Linked DNA regions of Homo sapiens: region 1 is linked to region 2. Evidence: promoter capture Hi-C in 16 types of primary human blood cells and fetal thymus (Javierre and others, 2016). All regions are on one chromosome and are shown on one strand. Each heading gives the region's core, a stretch centred on a gene start or on the middle of the fragment in contact. The rest is flanking DNA. Distances are from core to core; before and after follow the strand shown.

Evidence for each region. The method cuts DNA at HindIII sites, captures the fragments that hold promoters and counts their contacts. A CHiCAGO score of 5 or more calls a contact.
Region 1: a contact is called between the fragment with the promoter of PABPN1L here and the fragment with the promoter of CPNE7 in region 2, in 1 of 17 cell types (erythroblasts). The highest score is 5.4, in erythroblasts.

The regions. Positions count from the first base shown.
Region 1 is chr16:88,865,410-88,872,522 of GRCh38, forward strand. It overlaps PABPN1L (PABPN1 like, cytoplasmic), which reads right to left and starts at 1,251. Exons shown (of 7, transcript NM_001080487.4): 1 at 943-1,251; 2 at 397-532; 3 at 154-221. The coding sequence starts at 1,197. RefSeq lists an enhancer at 5,819-5,958. The HindIII fragment of the contact is 14,417 bases long and covers 1-7,113 here.
Region 2 is chr16:89,573,683-89,580,678 of GRCh38, forward strand. CPNE7 (copine 7) reads left to right here and starts at 2,076. Exons shown (of 15, transcript NM_153636.3): 1 at 2,076-2,389; 2 at 3,857-4,039. The coding sequence starts at 2,216. RefSeq lists silencers at 282-539, 1,000-1,229, 1,470-1,539. The HindIII fragment of the contact is 46,566 bases long and covers 1-6,996 here.

The DNA.
Region 1 (7,113 bases), core at 1-2,500, 710 kb before region 2:
GCCCAGGCCAGTGTTTCCTCAAGGTGACGGGGCTGCCCCCAGGGTCAGACCCCCTTCCCAGCAAGGCTGCCTGGCCCATGGCCGGGCGCCAGACCCTCTGGTAGAGATGGGGCCCCATTCGCTGCCTGCCCCTTCACCCCGCCCACCACTCACGTTGCCCACGTAGACGGATCTGTGGTCAGCCTCCACCTTCTCCTCGGGGGTCCCAGAGAGGGGGCAGCCTGCGGAGAACACAGCTCAGGCCCGCAGGCCCTTGGTTCCTTCCTCACTCCTCTCACGGGGAAGGTCGCCCAGGCTTATAGGGGAGGTGACACCTTGGAGCCTGCCAGGCCCAACCTTAATGGAAACTGTGGGACCCTTGCTCAGTGGGGGGCGGCCTGTGCCCTTGGTTCCTACCCACGGTCTCAGGGCTCAGCAGCTGCCCGGCCGCGGTGCCCTCCTCTTCCTCGGCCTGTTGCTGCACTCCTGGAGGCCGTGGCGTCCCCTCGGCCTGCTCCATGGCACACACCTTCATCTTGATGGCCTCCAGCTCCTGCCGACACACGGCCCTGAGCCGGGCAGGCAGCCTGCAGGCTCTGCTCAAGGAAGGTGGGTGTGTGGCCTGCCAGCTCCAGCAGAGGGTCACAGCCCCAAGGGGCAGCCCTTCTCTGGACAGGGACACTCCTTCCTGGGGCAGCTGGCTGGGGATGAACTCGCCCCTGCAGAGAAGCCCCCGAAACCGCACCTCAAGGGCCCTTCCCCAGGCGAGAGAGGCCACCTTGACCCTGCAGTCTGTGTGGCTGGGGGCGGGGGGTCTCCTTGCCACCTTCGTCCAGGCAGGTGGGCAATGGCCCTCTCCCCTCCTAAGTCAGCTGCAGCCATCCGTCACCCAGACCCCGTGTCTCCACCAGCCCCTGTGCCCCAGGTCCCCTGAGATCCCCAGGGCCTCCACACAGCTGTTACCTGGTCAGGCAATGGGCACTCAGCCAGGTTCTCTTGCTCCAGCAGAGACAGCAGAAAGCCTGCATCCCCATCCTGGTCTTCCTCTGCATCCTCTTCCTCCTCTTTCTCCTCCTTCCCTTCCCCACCCTCTGGCCCCAGAATCTCCTTGGTCTCGTTCCAGGCCCCCCAGCCCTGGGCCTCAGGGTCTGAGGAGACCGTCTGGAGCCAGGCCTGAGTCGGGGGTGGGAAGAGAGAGCGGCTCGGGAAGGGCCACATGGTAGAGGGGCAGGAGGAAGGTGGGCCAGGCGAGGCCTCCCCTCCACTCCCCTCGCGTCCGCACCTGCCCAGGCTCTCCTGGAGTTTTAAGCCCTCCCCTGAGGCCAGCTGCTCCCACTAGAGCATTTGCAAAGGCTGAGTGGGGCTGAGCTTCCAGCCTTGGCTCCCGGCCCCGCCCCTTCCCTGTCACTCGGACAGGTACCTCCAGGACACTCTCCCTGGAGGAAGGAGAGGCTGAGTTGAGTGGGGGTCACCGGTCTCTTCTGCTTCCGCCTGGCCACGCTGTGGCTCACTGGAGCCTTGGTCTGTGACAGGGTTCACACCTCAGCAGCATCCACACGGCACGAACGCCACACTGCATGAACACTCGATCTAAGTGGGAACACGGGAGTGGTTTCTTCTAGTACCAGGGACCAAGCAGGCTGGAGAGGTGGCTTCCGACCAGGAGAGGCAGGGCCTGAGCAGAGACCGAGAGCAGGTGCATGGGATGAGAGGGCCGAGGCAGGTTGGGGCGGGGTCCTGGGCCCAGAGGAGGGGCAGCAACAGCTGTCTCTGCATCCTGACCCCCATGGAGTCCCCAGGGACCCTTGCCTCCCTAACCCTTATTCTGGGCCTTTTTTTTTTTTTTCTTTTTTTTTTAGGCAGGAGTCTTGCTTTGTTGCCAAGTCTGGAGTGCGGTGGCGCGATCTCGGCTCACGGCAACCTTTGCCTCCCAGGTTCGGGTGATTCTCCTGCCTCAGCCTCCTGAGTAGCTGGGATTACAGGCACCTGCCACCATGCCCAGCTAATTTTTTTTGTCTTTTTAGTAGAGACAGGGTTTCACCATGTTGCCCAGGCTGGTCTCGAACTCCTGACCTCAGGTGATCCGCCCGACTCGGCCTCCCGAAGTGCTGGGATTACAGGCGTGAGCACCGCACCTGGTCTGGGTCATCTTTTAGGTGGGAGCCACTTCCATGAGGCCAGAATTATTCTGCTGTGGGGCGGGGGCTCCGTGGGGAGTGACGGCGTGAGTTATTGTGGGGCGGGGTCTCCGTGGGGAGTGACGGCGTGAGTTACTGTGGCGGAATTCAGTGGGCATCCGGTGGTGTCTGCACCTGGCTTCACCCATGCAGGGTTGCAGCAGGAGGTGACCCGTGTCCGCCCTTGCGCCTCCCTCTGCACCTGCCACCGCGGCTGCTGGAGTCTGCTCTGGCCTTCATCTCCAGTGCTGCCGTCTCCCACCCACTCTGTGAAGGACTCGGGGCCAGGGGGTCATGCATGGCTCTTACCCCTGCCATTGGTGGTGGGAGACGGGGCCCCCTGCACAGCTCCTACCCCCAGGCCGAGGCCATCCTCTCTGTGACTGCACCCCGGTGTTTAGCCAGTGGGGCTGGGATTCCTGGGAATTTGGGACTGGGGGAGGAGAGAGAGACAGGGCGTGGCCTAGGCTGGAGCTGCACTGCTGCACCATGCACCACCCACGCAGGGCGGCCCTTCCTCCATCTTGGGCTGGGGGCTCGGGGAGCAGGTGGACATGGAGGCTGCCACAGCCTGGGAACCCAGGCTCCTGCACCCAGTCTGTTCTCACCTCTGTAAAAGCCAGAAGGTGTCTGAGATGGGTCTCAATCAATCAGTTTAGAGGTGTATCTTGCCAAGGTTAAGGGTGCACCCAGGAAAAAGAAACACGAAGCCACAGGCAACATCTGTGCTCTGCTTTTTCCAAAGAGGGTTTGGAGGCCGGGCATGGTGGCTCACGCCTATAATCCCAGCAGTCTGGGAGGCCGAGGTGAGCGGATCACTTAAGGTCAGGAGTTCAAAACCAGCCTGGCCAACATGGTGAAACCCTGTCTCTACTAAAAATACAAAAACAATTAGCCAGGCATGGTGGCGGGCGCCTGTAATCCCAGATACTTGGGAGGCTGAGGCAGGAGAATCACTTGAACCCGGGAGGCAGAGGTTGCAGTGAGCCGAGATCGCGCCACTGCACTCCGGCCTGGGCGACGGAGTGAGACTGTCTCAAAAAACAAAAACAAAAAAACCCAAAGAGGGTTTGGAGACTTTTATACTTAAAGGGAAAGAGCGGGCAGGAGGGGAACACAGGAAGGAAAGAAAAGGGAGGGCGGATAAAAGGCAAGTGGTAGCGTTCCTTTGAATCTCTGATTGGCAGTCACCAAATGCACATTTTGAAATGTGGAAGGTGGGGGTAGAGAAGAGAATTACGTAGCCCCACGCTCAGCGACTCTGCGTTTCCACAGAAGATAAAACTGCCACAGGGAATAGGAAGCTGGCAGGTTCGCATTCGCCTCCGGTGAGCGGAGGGTAACGTTAGCTCTGTCCTTTGTCCCATACCTGGGAAGATAAGCTGCTAGATCACACTATCTGGGTGGGATCCAGCAGAACTGTTTCAGAGCCAAGATCTTGGGACCCACAAGGAATTTCCCTGTAAGCGCGATGCGAGGAGGCACAGGCTTCTTCATCTTCGTGGCTGTCCAATTAGGAAGAAAATGGGAGGCAGGTGTGTGTGATTCGGCTCCCAGCTTGACTTTTCCCTTTGGCTTAGTGCGTTTTAGGTCCCGAAATTCTGTTTTCTTTTCCCACCTCCAGGAGGCTGACTGAAGACCATGCTGTCACCCCATCTGTTCACCACCCAGAGGATTTTCTGGGGCAGGCTCATGAGGTCGGGGAGGAATGGGCCTTGTCTGGAACCTGGCTATGGCCCTGGACGCCCCTTCCCCTCTCCCTGGCTCCGCACAGCCACACACTTACGTGTGCGTGGTCCCTGGACGCTGTTCCCCCTGCGAACACGGTGCCACTGTTTCCGGGAGGGCTGCCGGGCTGCTCCTCCTCCCTCGAGAGCCGCTGTCCTCACGCCTTTCCTGCTGTCCGTCCAGTGTTGATGACTTGGCCAGCTCTCCCCTTAGAAACCAAAGCTCCTCAGGGGCAGCGCCCACATCTGCACCGAGGACAGGTACGCTGGGTGGAGTGCGGCCTCAGCCTGGGATCCTCCTGTTGGGATGGAGCCCCCTGCCCCGTGTGTCTGTGCCTGTGTGTTGGAGGGTCTGCCAGCACCCGTGCCTCCACCTCCCTGTCAGAGGCAGGATTGCAACCAGTTCCATCCAAGACCAGAGTCTGCTGGACTCGGCCCAGGCCCTGACGCATGCCCCTCTGAGCTCGGGCCCCGGCCATGGAAAACCTTGTCATCCTCACCCTGTCTGAGATTGCTGACACACAAGGCCCGGCCAGGGCTCCTGCCAGCTGCCTGGCAGGGGACAGACGGCTCCGACCCTGGCCTTTCCAGTGACACTCTTCAAATACACCCTGTTCCAGAGCCGGGCCTGAGGATTCATGGCAGCCTGGCCCCTGGGGCCCCAGCGCCCAGGACAACTCCTATTCCAGACAGGATCCGTGTGTGACCCAACACCAGGGCCCCATGGGGGTGGCTGAGAGGGGCAAGCCGTCCCTTCCTGTGCTGTCCACCCTCAGGTCCCCTGTGTCCCCTCAGTTTTCATTTCTTTTTTTTTTTTGAGATGGAGTCTCACTCTGTTGCCCAGACTGGAGTGCAGTGGCACGATCTCGGCTCACTGCAACCTCCACCTCCTGAGTTCAAGGGATTCTCCTGCCTCAGCCTCCCAAGTAGCTGAGATTACAGGCACCCGCCACCACACCCAGCTAATTTTTTGTATTTTTAGAAGAGATGGGGTTTCACCATGTTGGCCAGGCTGGTCTTGAACTCCTGACCTCAGGCAATCCACCCGCCTCGGCCTCCCAAAGTGCCGGGATGACAGGCGTGAGCCACCGTGCCTGGCCTCCCCTCAGTGTTGTCTGTGTCCCCTGAGGTCCCCTGTGTCCCCCATCGGGGTCGGAGGTGTCATGGCCCCAGCCCCAGCACTGTCTGAGGTGGGGCTGCTCAGGCAGGGGCTCCAGTCTTGGAATCCTCAGGACCATCTCCCGGGTGTAAAGTTGTTGGGACCCCCCCAAAGTCCCCTTTGCAGGCTCAGCCGTTGCCAGCCCTGCAGGGACCCTCGTGGCTGGGGCTGCTGCTCCTCCCTGCCTGTGTGCTCCCGCCCTGCCTCTTCCCCGTCGTGCTCCCGCCCTGCCTCTTCCCCGTCGCCCCAGCCCCACGTCACACACTGGCCTGTTTGTCCCTGCAGTGTGCGTGGTGCATGGGGAGGCCCCGCCCTACCAGGCACGGAGGAGCCCCAGCAGGTAATTAGTGAATTCACGGGTGAGACGAGGCTCAGCCGAAGCCTCCTGGGACCCAAGGAGAGGAACAGCCAGGCGACAGCGAACGTTCGCTTTATTACACGGACACGGCGCTAACCCGACTATTGCATCTCACAGCATCTACAGGCCAAACCCATAGTACGTCAGACGGAGCGGCGAGGGCCACCTCGCAGCCCTGCACAGCCTGCAGACCCAGGGCATGGGCTTCTCACAACTACAGAAAACAACTCAACTCCTCTGGGAGAGTCAAAAAAAAGAGGAGGAGAAAGTAGAGAGTAAGTCCCCTCCCCACCAGGCTGCACATGGCTGTGCCCCCGCCTGGTCCTCACCGGCCCGACCCCCTCGGCCCTGGCAGATGGGGTTGGGGAGCTGACAGCTGGCCTGGCGGGGCTCCCCACCCCAGCCAGGTGGGGACAAGGGAGGCCTGTTGCCGTCATTGACGTATTTCAAAAGCAGGTTTCACTCTGAGTACTGACGCTGAGTTCCCGTTCCTCTGGGTCTTTGGGAAGCTACTCCGGGGCTTGGCTGGATTGAAACATAAAGAACAGAAAGTGTCCAAAATGGAGTTTCCTAGAACTTCGGGAAAATGGAGCAGGGGTTGTCAGCAGCGCCCTGGCCTTATCTCTGAAGTGTGCACGGGAGCTGGCGGGCCTCTGGGAGGCCAGCCCCATGGACTCCCCCCTCTCCTCACTGTCTTCCTCTCCGGCCAGCACGCTCATCATCCAGGGCCCCAGCCCCATTTTGGAGAGCACCCCCTCAGTGTGGGAGCTTGCAGGGCAGTGTGGGAGGAAATAGGCCCCGGGGCTCGGGGATGCAGGGCAGGGAGGCTGCAGAGGACCCTGGGGAGCACCCATCACTCCTGGCAGAATTTATCCAGGCAGGTCTGTTCCCAGAAGTCCCCAGTCTCAGGCCGTAAGGACTCAACTCTGAGCCATCTGGGATCCCAGGAAAGGGAATGGGAGCCTGGCACCTGTGAGTACACCCCGAGGAGTGGGGCTCCAAGAGTGCTGGGGTCTCGGGGAGGCTGCATGGGGTCACCCTCCTCTCCTGGGGACACCCCCTCCAGGCATTGACCCCTGGAAACAAGGAGTGGGAGAGGGCGGCCCTGCAGCGTCGCGGCCCTGCCAGGGAATGTGCTCACCCTGGCGCCCTGGTCGGGGACCCTGGGCAGGTGTGTGGGCCGCCACCCAGTGTGTGCTCCTGGCCCCGGCCACCCACCTGGAGCTCCAGGTGGCCCCAACTGGCCAGAGCTGTTGCGAGGTACTGGTCCCACCTGCTCACAGCACCTGCAGCAGAATTTTATCTGCCCCTGCAGGTGTCTGGAGCAGTCCTGGACTGCGCTGGGTATGGAAGAGGCTGCCGCCCACCAACAGGTTCCCTTAGGGCAACAGCTGAGGTCATGGCAGGAGCAACCCTTGTCACTGGCACACGACGGGGGGCAGCTGGTGCCACTCTGGGGTCCGTGGGTGGAGAGGGTGGGGTGGGATGGAGGGACGGCTGTGTGGGTGGCCAGAGGACACACAGAGGACACGCATGTGGGGCGCGTGGGGGTGGAGGGGTGGGTGGGGGGGAAGGGCGGGGGCTGGGGGTGGGGAAAGTGATCTCTGGGATACTGGACAGATGGGGCAGAAGAAAACGTGATGAGAGAGAAGAACCAGTCACTGGGGGCCGGGTGGCGCCGGCACGAGGACGGAGGGGCCGGCATGCACATGG
Region 2 (6,996 bases), core at 826-3,325:
TGCACATAAAAAAAAAAACCTGGAGGGTTAGATGTGGGGAGGTGATGGGCTGCTTTGGGGTCTGGAAATTTGTTTTTACTCCCTATCTGCATTGTCTAATATTTCAACAAGGAACACGGTTATTATTCCTGCGTGTATGTGTGTGGATCTCATTTCCTGTGTCTGGCCCTGCAGGGAAAGCTGGGAGGGGGAGCCTTGGAAAGATGGCTCCACATGGCCTGCGGGGTCCTTCCATTGTACCTGGGCCTACTGCGGGCTGATCCCTGAGCAGGGGCAGGCAGCGTCCAGACACCAGTGCCACAGGGGAATCGGCTTTTCCTTCTGTGGTTTCTCTCCATTAGAGCAGGCTGCAGTCAGGGCTGTCAGTCAGGAGACAGCAAGCCGGCCGAGGGCTGTGGCTGGAGATCCCAAATCGCCCTGGGCTTCAGAGACTCAAATTCCCAAACTCTGTGATCTTTCTTGGCTCCCTGCGTCCTTTGCTTGGAAGCCATCTGTTATTTTGCCAGGGTGCCGCTATGTGACAGCCAAGGGCTGAACTGGGGTGTTCCAGGTTTAAGCCGGGTACCCCTCAGACAGCCTGGTGGACCTCAGGCCTCACGCCACACTGCAGACGAGCAAACCTCAGGGCGGTGGTGAGGAGCTTTCGGGTGAGGTCAAGGCAGGAAGCGGAGCTTGGTCTGGGGAAAACTGTCCCAGGGCTGCTGGAACCGAGCGGGAGGCACGGCCTGCAGGAGCTGCCTGGGCGCCCGCACCCTTTGCCTGAATTTCGCATCCTTTTCCCATGGAAGTGGTTGGGGACCGAGGATGTGGCCTCCCGGCAGCCTGGAAGGCTGGGCTGAGGAGGACACAGGGCCGGGAAGGCCCAGACTGGTCCCTAGAGAGCGGGACTGGCCTCTGCCCACTGCGGGCTTCAGGGAGGAGGCGCAGAGGCCGGGGAGACAGCAGATGGGGCCCTGCAGGCCTCGCTGCGCCCTGACCTGTTCCTCGCCTCTTTAGCCAACCTCCCGGGAAGGCAGGAGCCGGTCTCCATGGCCTCTCCCGGCCCTGCCAGCCCCGTGGGGCCTCCCCGCCCTGCAGCCGCGCCCGGCGCCATCCCGCCGTCCGACCGCGAGGGGACGCCGCTGGCCGCGTTCCTCCTCCCAGGCCGAGGCTGCCTGTGCTGCCTCCCGCCGGCGGGGCCCTGAGCCTCCTCGCCCTGTCGGCGGCGGTCCCCTCTGACCGCAGGGTCTTCTTCTAGAGTCCTGATCGCCGAGGCTGAGCGGAGGCGCCCGGTCTTCCCGCCTCTTCAGTCTTAATGTCTCCCTCACCCTCGCCCCCCACCCCCGTGGCTTTTGGCGAGGTCCGTGCCCTATTTTTAGGCAGAAATCGGCAAAAAGAGTGGACTGCGAGGTGGTTTCTGTCCCCGCCGACGCCTCCTCTTCCGCTGCTCCCTCCCCCGGGACCGGTGATGGGGAAGGTGGGGGAGTGAGTTCAGGGCGGAGCGGGCCCACCCCCCACGGAACCCAGGCCTGCCCCGCCCCGCCCCGGCCTCGGGGGACTGGTGTGGACCGTGCCCCGCGGACCCCTCGGAATCAGACCGCGATTCAGCCCTCGGCCCCCCGGGACGGTCCTTCCAGCCCCAGACGAGCGCGGCGCCTGCACACAACAGGCGCCCACTAAATGCTTGTTGATGGAGGTGGCGAGTACCCGAAACCAGCGGAGCCTGGAAATGGGATCCTAGAGATCCGGGAAGGGCGCGGGGATCTGGTGCCAAGCTGGGGTCCCCCTTTTGCCTCCCCTAGTGTCTGCCTGGGTCCGAACCCGGGCTCAGGCCCCGCGCAGCTCGGAGCCTCCAGCCCGGAGCCGGTCCCTGGGCCGGGGATGCGCACAGCCGGGGAGGGCGCGCCCGACCTGACCCCAAAGCTATCAGTTGGGGGGGGGGTCCCCGGGGAATTAGAAGCTGTCTCCTCCCGGGCATCTCCGAGGGGCACCCCTGCCTCTGCCCCCTGCCCTCATTTCCCGCCGCGCCCCTCCCCGGCCCCGCCCCCCGGCCGCGCCCCACCCCCTGCAGTCCCCGCGCGGCGGCCGCCCGAGCCACGTGCGCCCGCGCCCGGCAGGCGTTCAGGGAAGCGCGGCCACGCCTGGGCCGGCCACCATTTCCCGGGCGCCGCGGCGGCGCCGACTCGCGGGCAGCGGCCCCTCAGTGCGCCCAGCCGGGCCCCCGAACGCCGGGAGCATGAGCGCGGGCTCGGAGCGCGGGGCGGCGGCAACCCCCGGGGGTTTGCCCGCGCCCTGCGCCTCGAAGGTGGAGCTGCGGCTCAGCTGCCGGCACCTGCTGGACCGCGACCCGCTCACCAAGTCCGACCCCAGCGTGGCGTTGCTGCAGCAGGCGCAGGGCCAGTGGGTGCAGGTAGGGCCGGGGCGTGGGAGGCCGAGAGGCCACCGGGCCGGGGCTGGCGCCGAGCTGGGGATGCGGAGACCAGAGCGGGCGCGCTGAGGCCAGTGGGGCGCAAGGCGGGGCCCCCCGGAGCTGGGGCTCAGCTCGGGGTCAGGGTTGGGGGTTACCAGGTCTGGGGGTGGGGTGTCCAGAGCTGTGGGGAGAGGCTGGGCTGGAGGAGGTGGCGGCGAGCGGGGTTCGGAGGAGAGAGGGGGGTGCCCCGCAGTGAGGGGTGCGGCCCAGGGTTCGGGGAGGGGGCCCCGGGCCAGAGTGAAGCGCCCAGGCATGAGGCGCGGGCAGGGGGCTCGACCAAGAGGCGCAAGGAGATTGAGGGGTGAGGGGCGCCGGCCGACGGGGGGCGGGAGGCTGGGCGGGAGCAGGCCGGCGAGGGAGCGCGCGCTGGGGTGCGGACCTCCAGGCGTCCGGGGCTCCCGCTCCAACGTGGGTCTCAAGCGAACCCGCTGTGATCGCGGTTGGGGTCCGAAGGGGCACGGGGCCGGCGCCAGACGGGCGCTTCCTCGGTCACCATCTCGCGTGAAACGCGTGGCTTCACCTCGAAAGGGCGAGAAACGCATGGCGCGAAGCCGCAGCGGGCGGAGGAGCCGGAACTCGAACCCCAGTCCGCGCGGGGCGCCAGCGCTTTTCCCCGGCGCAGGGGTCTCTCCAGGCTCCAGCGCGGGCCCGGGCGGCTGCTCGGGCGGTGGAAGGGACGCGGTCACCCGGTGGCGTCTCCGGTCATCCACCTTGAGGGTGAAGGGCCTGCCCCGCCCTCACCGCCTGTCCCCAGGGTTCCGGCTGCCCCCGGAGGCCCCGTGCCCGCCCCTCACAGCCTGAGCCCACCCTTCACATCCCGAGCCCACCATCCCCACGGAGGCCTCGTGCCCGCACCCTCAGAGCGTGAGCTGTACGGGTGGCCCATGTTTGCCCTTGGTTTGAGGTGCAGGATTTTTCAGGATTCTGAAATGAGTAGCCTACTGGCCCAGCTGGGTCTTGTCCTTACGGGGCAGTTGGACCAGGGAACTGCATGGGATGGGAGAGGCTGGTGAGCCCATGGTACCCCAGCCAGGAGGGAGGGCCCCCCTGTACCCTACGCCCCCTCCCCACTCAGCTGGTGCTGGGGAGCGGCCTGCACTTTAGGGCTGCCCAGCCCAGGGTGTGAATCTGATCTCGCCCCCGACTCAGCGTGTCATTCTCGTCCTCTGTGAGCCTCACTTTCCCCATCTGTGATCTGAGGGTGGAGCAGACAGTGGTGGCCAGGGGTGACCCCCAGGGTGGCCCTCGGGATTGTGGTCCCATGGACAGAGAGCAGGCAGGAGGTCTTCCCAGGGTATGAGTCCTCCTGAGGTACCTGGGCGTGGGTGAGCGGCAGAGGGGAGATGGAGGTCTGGAGCCCGGGGTGGAAGCCTCTGGAGTGGGGTCGGCTCACAGGTGCACTTGCAGGTGGGCAGAACCGAGGTGGTCCGGAGCAGCCTGCATCCCGTGTTCTCCAAGGTCTTCACGGTGGACTACTACTTCGAGGAGGTGCAGAGGCTGCGCTTTGAGGTGTACGACACGCATGGGCCCAGCGGCTTCAGCTGTCAGGAGGACGATTTCCTGGGGGGCATGGAGTGCACCCTGGGGCAGGTGGGTGCCCCGTCCCCTCGGAGGGAGGAGGACGGTTGGCGTGGGGGCCACAGCCGATTCAAGGCTGATGTACCAGCACCGCAGGGACCCTGCTGGGGTGGCCAACCTGGCTCTGCCCCCTCCTCAGCTCCTCCTGAACAGTCATTATTAGATTAAAATATACATGTAATTTTGAACTGGGTAATACATTCGTATGTTTTAAAGCCTGAAGGTATAAAAGGCTGTGGAGCGCCTCCATCCTGCCCCATCCAGCTGCTGCCAGGTCCCTGGACATTGTCCAGAGAGAGATTTTCACAGGAGCAAACCAGCCTATCACTTTTCCTCTTTTTTCTTTTTTTTCTTTTTCTTTTTTTTTTTTTTTGAGATGTAGTCTCGCTCTGTCACCCAGGCTGGAGTGCAGTGGCGTGATCTCGGCTCACTGCAACCTCCACCTCCTGGGTTCAAGCGATTCTCCTGCCTCAGCCTCCTGAGTAGCTGGGATTACAGGCACCCGCCACCACGCCCGGCTAATTTTTGTATTTTCAGTAGAGACGGGGTTTCACCATGTTGGTCAGGCTGCTCTTGAAATCCTGACCTCGTGATCCGCCTGCCTTGTCCTCCCAAAGTGCTGGGATTACAGGCGTGAGCCACGGTGCCCAGCCCACTTTTCCTCTTTTTTCAAAAATACACAAATTACGTTCCCTGTTCTGCATCCTGCGTTTTCACTTCCACGACGTGCAGCAGCCCCTCCATATCAGCACCTAAAAGTCTCCTGGTGGCCGGCCGTGGTGGCTCACACCTGTGATCCCAGCACTGTGGGAGGCCGAGGCGGGCAGATCACTTGAGGTCAGGAGTTCGAGACCAGCCTGGCCAACATGCTGAAACCTCATCTCTACAAAAAGTACAATAATTAGCCGGGCATGGTGGCATGTGCCTGTAATCCCAGCTACTCTGGAGGCTGAGGCAGGAGAATCGGTTGAACCCGGGAGGCAGAGGTTGCAGTGAGTGGAGATCTCACCACTGCACTCCAGCCTGAGTGACAGATTGAGACTCTGTCTCAAAAAAAAAAAAAAAAAAAGAAGCCTCCTTGTGAGCAGCAGGTCCTACGGTGGCCACTGCTTCCTTGGTGATGCTCTCTGGGTTACGGCCTCCACAGCCAGCCCAAAAGTGGCTTCTGCAAGTCGTGATGAGAGTGTCTGTTGATGTGCTGGGCCCTGCTGGACACTGCGCTAAGCACTTCCTGTGCTGCACGGAATCCTCACACCTTGCCAGGACGGGTCCTTCTTTTTTATTGAGGTAAAATTTACAGGCCGGGCACGGTGGCTCACGCCTGTAATCGCAGCACTTTGGAAGTCCGAGGTGGGGGGATCACGAGGTCAGGAGTTCGAGACCAGCCTGGCCAACATGATGAAACCCCATCTCTACTAAAAATAGAAAAGAAATTAGCCAGGCGTGGTGGTGCGTGCCTGTAGTCCCAGCTACTGGGGAGGCTGAGGCAGGAGAATCACTTGAACCTGGGAGGCAGAGGTTTCAGCGAGCCGAGATCGCGCCACTGCACACCAGCCCAGGTGACAGTGAGTCTTTGTCTCAAAAAAAAAAAAAAATTTTACGATAAAATGCATCAATCTTAAGGGTTGAGAATGACAAGTTTAGGTGACTGTACACAGCTGACCATCACCCGTCACACAGAACATCCCGTCACACGGAACATCTCACCTGTCACACAGAACATCCCTTCACCCCTCACACGGAACATCCTGTCACCTGCTGACACGGAACATCCGATCACCCGTCACACGGAACATCCCATCACACAGAACATCCCATCACTTGTCACATCTCACCCATGACACGGAACATCCCGTCAGCCATCACATCTCACCCGTCACACAGAACATCCCTTCACCCATCACACGGAACATCCCATCACCCATCACATCTCACCCGTCACATGGAACATCCCTTCACCCATCACATGGAACATCCCGTCATCTGCTCACATGGAACATCCCATCACCCATCACACGGAACATCCCATCACCCATCACACAGAACATCTCACCCATCACACGGAACATCCCGTCACCCGCTGACACGGAACATCTCACCCGTCACACGGAACATCCCACACCCATCACACGGAACATCTCACCCATCACACGGAACATCCCGTCACCTGCTGACACGGAACATCTCACCCATCACACGGAACATCCCGTCACCCGCTGACACAGAACATCTCACCCGTCACATGGAACATCCCGTCACCCGTCACACGGAACATCCCATCACACGGAACATCTCACCCATCACACGGAACATCCTGTCACCCGCTGACACGGAACATCTCACCCGTCACACGGAACATCCCATCACCTGCAGACACGGAACATCTCACCCATCACACAGAACATCCCGTCACCCGCTGACACAGAACATCTCACCCGTCACACGGAACATCCCGTCACCCGCTGACACAGAACATCTCACCCGTCACACGGAACATCCCGTCACCCGCTGACACGGAACATCTCCCCCATCACACGGAACATCCCATCACCTGCAGACACAGAACATCTCACCCATCACACGGAACATCCCGTCACCCGCTGACACAGAACATCTCACCCGTCACACGGAACATCCCATCACCCGTCACACGGAACATCCCATCACCCGTCACATGGAACATCCCATCACCCGTCACACGGAACATCCCATCACCCATCACACAGAACATCTCACCCATCACACGGAACATCTCACCCATCACACGGAACATCCCGTCACCCGCTGACACAGAACATCTCACCCGTCACACGGAACATCCCATCACCCGTCACATGGAACATCCCATCACCCATCACACGGAACATCTCACCCATCACACGGAACATCCCGTCACCCGCTGACACGGAACATCTCACCTGTCACACGGAACATCCCATCACCCGTCACATGGAACATCCCATCACCCA